Regions from separate parts of the Homo sapiens genome. Here region 2 is linked to region 1. Evidence: promoter capture Hi-C in human tissues and cell types (Jung and others, 2019). All regions are on one chromosome and are shown on one strand. Each heading gives the region's core, a stretch centred on a gene start or on the middle of the fragment in contact. The rest is flanking DNA. Distances are from core to core; before and after follow the strand shown. Region 1 holds the start of IRAK1BP1 (interleukin 1 receptor associated kinase 1 binding protein 1). Region 2 has its middle 36 kb from the start of LINC01621.

The links. Contacts are between HindIII fragments. The study calls those that stand out against the background at their distance.
Region 2: a contact is called between a fragment that was not itself captured here and the fragment with the promoter of IRAK1BP1 in region 1, in 1 of the 25 tissues and cell types used here (dorsolateral prefrontal cortex).

The regions. Positions count from the first base shown.
Region 1 is chr6:78,866,294-78,869,695 of GRCh38, reverse strand. IRAK1BP1 (interleukin 1 receptor associated kinase 1 binding protein 1) reads right to left here and starts at 2,145. Exons shown (of 4, transcript NM_001010844.4): 1 at 1,805-2,145. The coding sequence starts at 2,119. LOC107986613 (a long non-coding RNA gene) reads left to right here and starts at 2,206. Exons shown (of 2, transcript XR_001744210.2): 1 at 2,206-2,308. RefSeq lists enhancers at 1,358-1,958, 1,791-2,110, 2,141-2,250. The HindIII fragment of the contact is 12,955 bases long and covers 1-3,402 here.
Region 2 is chr6:79,774,238-79,777,643 of GRCh38, reverse strand. No RefSeq gene overlaps it. Among named protein-coding and RNA genes, the nearest start is that of LINC01621, 36 kb to the left of the region's middle. The HindIII fragment of the contact is 4,720 bases long and covers 1-3,406 here.

The DNA of each region.
Region 1 (3,402 bases), core at 896-3,395:
TCATTCTGAAAATATAAATGATATTTTGTATTATCTCCTGAACAAATTATCTACCTGACTGCTTTCATCCATTAGCAGAGATAATTGGGAGGTTACTGTCTTTCTTATGTCTTGCCTTGAACACTGAATCTTGATTACTCTAAGTTGGACTTAGTTAATTTATTTACTTACTACTTATTTGAGACAGAGTCTCTGTCACCCAAGCTGGAGTGCAGTGGCACCATCTCGGCTCACTGAAACCTTCGCCTCCCGGATTCAAGAGATTTTCCTGCCTCAGTCACCCTAGTAGCTGGGATTACAGGACTGTGCCACCATGCCCACCTAATTTTTGTATTTTTACTAGAGATTGGGTTTTGCCATGTTGGCCAGGCTGGTCTCGAACTCCTGGCCTCAAGTGATCCACCTGCCTTGGCCTCCCAAAGTGTTGGCATTACAGGCATGAGCCACCATGCCCAGCTTATGTTGTTTTATATATTAGAGACCTGTGAGCTCTTTTTATTTTATGTAAATAACTTAAAAACTTGTTAACATTATTCAAACGACTACAGCACTAGTAGCAGTTTTTTAAAACTATTTTTCTACATATTAAACCCACTTTACTCACATTATTTATAATTATCTGTATTTTTCTAAATTGTAAAATCATTTGAAGAAATCTTGTCCAAATGACTTTGTAATAACTTGTATGTTTGTATTATAAATGCAATTCAAATATCTTTTCTTGTTAAAAATAAGGACTTGCTTTTTCGGGGTATGGAATTTCTTGCAATAGACTGGAAGTAACAATGCCTGCACTTTTACCAACTCAATGTCATCCTGGATAAGTTACATCTCTGGCCTTTGGGGTCCTACTCTATAAAATGAGAAAACTGAAATCGTTGATCCCTATGATTTCTAATTTTCTTTCATTCTAATTATCGGCAGAATTGGAAGCAACTTACATTCTGGTTTCAGGAATACATGAGTTCAAATATTGCTCTACCTAAAGTTCAGAGCATTGTTTAACCTCTTTAAATTTGGAAAACAGGGATATTAAAACATGCCTAACAGTGCTATTGTGTGGATTAAATGATGGCTTCATTTTTTTTCTTGCCTTAGGAGTAGGCTTAAGGTAAGATTTGTTTAGTGATTTGTCTCATGGACATCTCCGTTAAGTAAGTAGAAGTATTTCGTATATGTGGTATCCACAATACTGGCTTGATTTTTTCTTTTAAGTTAAACCTAAGAAGGCCGAAGAAATTTTGGGGGAATCACTATAAAATGAAAATCATTATAAAATGAAAATGGACGCAACTTCTTCCCCACTTCCCAACGTTACTGTTTGCGGAACATACTCAAGAACCATTCCATGCAAAGTTTTACATGATCGGAAGGAAGCAGGTCGTGCTCTTCACTTGCCAATTCCATGGTGCGGAATAAAAACAAAACAAAACAAAATATTTAGTGTCCAGCACTCCACGTGGGCAAGTATTTACAACTAACATTTCAAGTTTTAACATTTCATCACTTTAAATTTAAAAACAAAATCACTGAAGCAAATATCCCCAGATAAAAACCTACCCAATTTGCATTCTTTTATTTTTAATTTGCCTGAGGCCAATAATTACCTTCGTCTAGGAGAAGAATGGGTCAAATATTCACTCTGCCAGGTCCTGGCGTCCCGGAGTACCTTTGCAACAAACGCGTCCTAAACGCTCCAGACCCTCCACATCTCCCTTCCCGCTAGGGGGGCCTGTGGGGCCCGACCATCTGCCAACCCTTTTGTGTCTTCCGGCTCTTATTTCCTCCCCCGCGGAGATCTCACCTGCACGCCCTGCTGCTGGAGGCTCTGCGTGATGTAATCTAGACGGCGACAAACGCTCTTTTTGGCCTCGGCTGCCGCCTCCTTGGTGCTGCTCACTCGCACCACCACCTGCGCCCGGTCAGGGCCCGCAGACACTTCTGAGGTGCCGCTTACTTGCACCTCGCGGGTAGCAGTTTGGGCTTGTGTTGAGGAGAGGGGGTGGCGTAAGCCCGGTAGCGTCTCTCTCCCTGAGGCCAGGTTGTTCTCCCGGCTCCGGTCAGCCCAGGGAACCAGTTCCACGAACACTCGGGTCGGAGGGGTCTTTTGCAGAGACATAGCGATGGCAGCTGGGTTTCCATAGTAACTACCGGCCGACGGCGGCCGAAGGGGCCAATGCGCACCAGGGCTTGCCTGTGCACGGCGCAAAGTATGCCGGGATGGGTGTGGAGGCCGCGGAACTTCTGGCGGGCGCAAGCTATATGCCTTGTTGATCTTGCCGCATCTTTTTTACTAGATGTCGGCTGAGTGAGTAGCTACAGTTTTTAACATGTTTAACTTACGGCCTTCAAAAATTGTTAGCGGACTTTCTCTGTTGCCTCCTCAGTGAGCTCTGCCCTTTCTCGCAACTCCTTGTCGTCCCACCGCGCCTCTGCACCTCAGAGGAAGGAGAAGAGTAGCGAGGCCGAGCGGGTTTTTAGATTTCTCTGTGATTACCCCCAGCCTTGTCTTTTCTGACTTTACCGTCCCCGCTTGGGGTACTGCTTTTTGAGGCTCCCTCGGCCACATTTTTGTGGTTCGTGAGAGGTTTCAGTTGAGGTGAACTTTTTGCCCCTGTGATCTTGGACAGTTTATGATTCTTCATATCTCAGTATCATCTTCTCTAAAGCAGGGTTGATAATATTTTTTATATTAGTAATATATAATATATTCTAATATATATAATATATTCTAATATATAATATATTCTAATATATATAATATATTAATATTATCAAAGCAATGTTGATAATATTTTTCACATTTGCTATGTGCTTATAAGGCGCCCATTGTATGTAGAGTGCGTTGCATATGGAAAGCAGAGTGAACATAATGGATGTTTGTAATGATAGCTATGGCTTTGGCATCATTTTTGTGTCTCCCCATTTTTTTCTAAAATCCCTGGAATGGTTCGGGCCTTGAATTCCGACAGAAGAGATTTAGGTGGTAGCAAAGCACGTCCAACATGGAGTTTGCTGGGCCTGCACAACTTGGAGCTTCTCTGTACCCTTTTCTTCAGAGAACTTTTAGAACACAACCCTCAACTTCCCGTCTTCTGGATTCTCTTCCTAGCACTAAGCAATGATCTTTGTAAAAATAGCCCCACTGACTTATACGTCTTTACTATCTGAATTTTATCAAGAGAATCGAGGGGGGAAAAAAGAATTTTGAATAACTAGTTCTAGAAGGACAAGAACTGTTCTTTTAAAAGGACCCTGAAAAGCTGACAGTCCTCTTGTAGTTTCTTCACCATCGTTTTTTCTGTTCTTTTCGATTAGTATAATTCAACTAAATCAATGGTACCCCCCTCCTTTAATTAGGCTCATCACTAGATTAACATAATTTTGTGTATATCCATCTTG
Region 2 (3,406 bases), core at 352-2,851, 910 kb before region 1:
AACTTTTTTGTCTTCCCAAACTGCAATCCTGAACCCATGAAACACTAACTCCCCATTCCCTCCTGCCCTCAACCTCTTGCAACCACCGGGCCACTTACTGCCTCTCTGGCGAGTTCACTACCCATCAACCACAGCTTTGCTGAGAAGCCAGGATAGGGAAACATGTTCCCCCACTCCAATCTACATTTGTTTCTAAGTGGTGGTAGGCTTTTTAGGTCATCTTTATTTCTTCATGAAACTTCTCTGTGTTTTCTTTCTTTTTTCCAATAAAATTGCTATTTTTATTTTTAAAAACACGGATAACCTTTTGAAGAAAGAGATGGGTAGGTGTTTACTAAGCAGATGTCTGGGTGGGTGGGGAAGGGCATTCCAGGCAAAGGGAGCGGGAAGCACAGAGGGCTGGAGGGGGCATGAGGAGGGTGGCGTCTTGGTGGAGGGCAGCTTGGTCAACATGACTAGAGTTTGGGGATTACAATGAGGAAAGAGGAATCAAGATATCAGGCTGCCTGCAAAGTGGGCAGAAGTAAGATCTGAAAGGCTTTGTTTGCCACGTTAAGTAGTTGGCCTTTTTAGGCAATAGGAGAAAAAGGATTTTAAACAGAGGAGATACTTGAGCAAAGACTGCTTTAGAAATGAGACTCTAGTGTATGGATTGTAGTGAATGGATGGAGAGGGAGAAGGAGATGAGAGTGGATGCAAGTTAGGAGACTGCCACAATGGTCAAGGGGAGGAGTGCTGAGGGCCTGAGATAGGGAGGAGAGGCAGAGAGAGGTAAACAATTAAGAGAGGCATTAAGAAGGGGAACTGAGGGGACCAAGCAACTGCTAATCTATTAGGGAGTGAGAAGGAGAGGTATTTGGCTGGAGTGACTGAATGGATGGTGGTGTCAGGCACTGAGTTAGAGAATGGAAAAGCGAGAAGCAGATTTCGGGGAAAAGTCCATGAGTGCACTTTGGGACATGTTGAGTTCTGGGTTCCTGGGGGTCACCCAAGAGAAGAATCGTTAGGTACAGTGATTATATTTGCAGGTGGAGAGTTCATGAGAGATCTCTAGGCTAAAGATATAAATAAGGAGTCAAGAACATATGGATGGTGGCTGAAGCCATGAGAGTGAATGGGGCTACCAGGAAGAAAGCCCATGTGCACAGAGGAGAGAAGATACCTTAGGGCAAAGCTCTAGGGTATCTATTAAAGGTCTTTAGTTACAAGTAAAAGAAACCAGATGTAGTAACTGTAAGCACTGTATAAAGAATAACTTATTGGAAACCTGCTGCATAGGTCACAGTATAAACAGCTGAATACTCAGGCCGTGAGAGAACAGAGGAAGGGAGCTCCAGGGTCTCTGGGGAGAATTTGTGGCTTGCCATCTAGGCTGCTGCCATCAGCTGACCCACTTACAACTGCTCCCCACCCCCATGTGTCCGCACTCCAGACTTACATTCCTTGGAATGATCATCTGATTTTCCCTGCCTGTGTTAAATTTCCCAGCCTGAAGTGAGGGGATCAGGATCTTGTATCAATTCCCCACCAAAACCCCAGGAATTTTGAGTGAAACCAGGGAAGGCAACTGAGAAACAACATCTAGAGATGGAGAGGACCCAGGAGACAGCAGTAGTCTTGAAGCCTGGGAAGGAGTTTTAAGAAGGGAGGGATATGTTGTATCAGGTGCCACACACGGGGCCACATTTACCAAGATGAAGGGTAAAATAATAAATTAATTTGGCAACTAGGAAAGCATTGATAAGTTTTTCCCTAGCATATCTGGGGAGTACAAGGGATAGCTAATGGCAGTGGGTTGAAGAGTGAATGGAAAGAAAATAAATGGACTGAGTGTTAACCACTTTACCAGGGAGCCTGGTGGTCTCATGGGGGGAGAAAGATGGTAGCTACAAAGGCCTATATAGTAAGGACAAAGATTTGTTAGTGGCAGTGATGTGAACGTATTTCTAGCTTATAGGGAAGGAACCAATTGGAGGAAGATGTGGAAAGTGGAGGAAAACAGTCAAGAGAGGACTCCCGGCTTCAGTGAGGTGCCAGGGAGACACAGATCATAGGTTACTTTAAAGCAGACACATTTTCCTCTAAGATTGGACAGAGAGAGGTGAGGATGAGTACCTATATACAAGTATGTTGTCATCCCATTTTTTTTTTTAAGGTACCTGTCAGTGTGTGCCTGTACACAGAAACCACTGTATCAGAAACATGTCTGTATTTATTGTCACGTGACTAGATATGGTACAGGGCGTTTTAAGGCAGTTCATTTCTGAGCCTGACTCCCTCGGTTTTATTTCTCAAGTCAGACCCATAGTCATCTGCTGGCATTGTACAAGTGGCCAGGTGACAAGTAGTTTAGGGAAAAAATGTTCTATTTTAATGTCTATGTAGAAGCTATGTACTCTTTCATCATGACTGTGTCTCAGAGAAATGTATTCAGGCATTGTGTGACCTGCTAGTAAGATTAACAAAAACGTTAAGGGAAGTATAGCAGTCTAGGGAGTTGGCTATTATTAAGACAATATAGAAAAAATAAATGAAACTTTCAGAATAGACAGTCCAGGGAGTGATCATGGGAAAAGTTTGCCTAAGTAAGGAATGGAAGCTTTTGGGCCAAAGAAGGTCAAGAAAAGTTTAAGGCCAGGTTTTAGGAGATTGTCTAGGGCAGGGTATCATAGATGCCCACAGGGTTCAAGCAGATTCTACAAACGCAGGAGGCAGCTGTGCCTTGTCTTCCACAGCACATTGTGGAGACCACACAGAAAGGACTAGCATCAAATGTTTATGACCCAGAGACAGTATGGGCTTAGTGTGGCCAGAGCTTCCAGGTTTTCAAAAAAGCCAGATATCTGTATTTTATGCAAAAATCTCTTAATTTTTTAACAAATTGTAGGTTCATTTTTAAAAATTATTTTTAAATGCTTTTTAAAAAATCATTCTACAGGCCAAACTAACAACTAGTGTACAGGATTTTTCTCTTGAACCACCCATTTCCAACCTTGATTCTATATAGCTGTTCCTTATATTATAAATAGTGTGCTAGGATCTGAATGTTTGTGTTTCTTCAAAATTCAGATGTTGCAATTCTAACCCCCCAGGAGATGGCATTAGGAAGTGGGGCCTTTGGGAGGTGATTAGGTCATGAGGCCATGGAGCCCTAATGAATGGGGTTGGTCCCCAAATAAAAGAGGCCCAGAGAGCTGCCTTGCCCCTTCCACTGTGTGAGGACACAGGGAGAAGGCACCATCTAGGAATCTGGTAATGGGCCCTAAATCTACCAGCTTCTTGGTCTTGGACTTCCCAGTCTCCAGAACTGTGAGAAATGAATTTTTGTTGTTTATATGCAACCAGCCTATGACATTTTGGAATAGCAGCTCAAATGGACTAAGACATGAGTTTTTGGTTGTTTTTT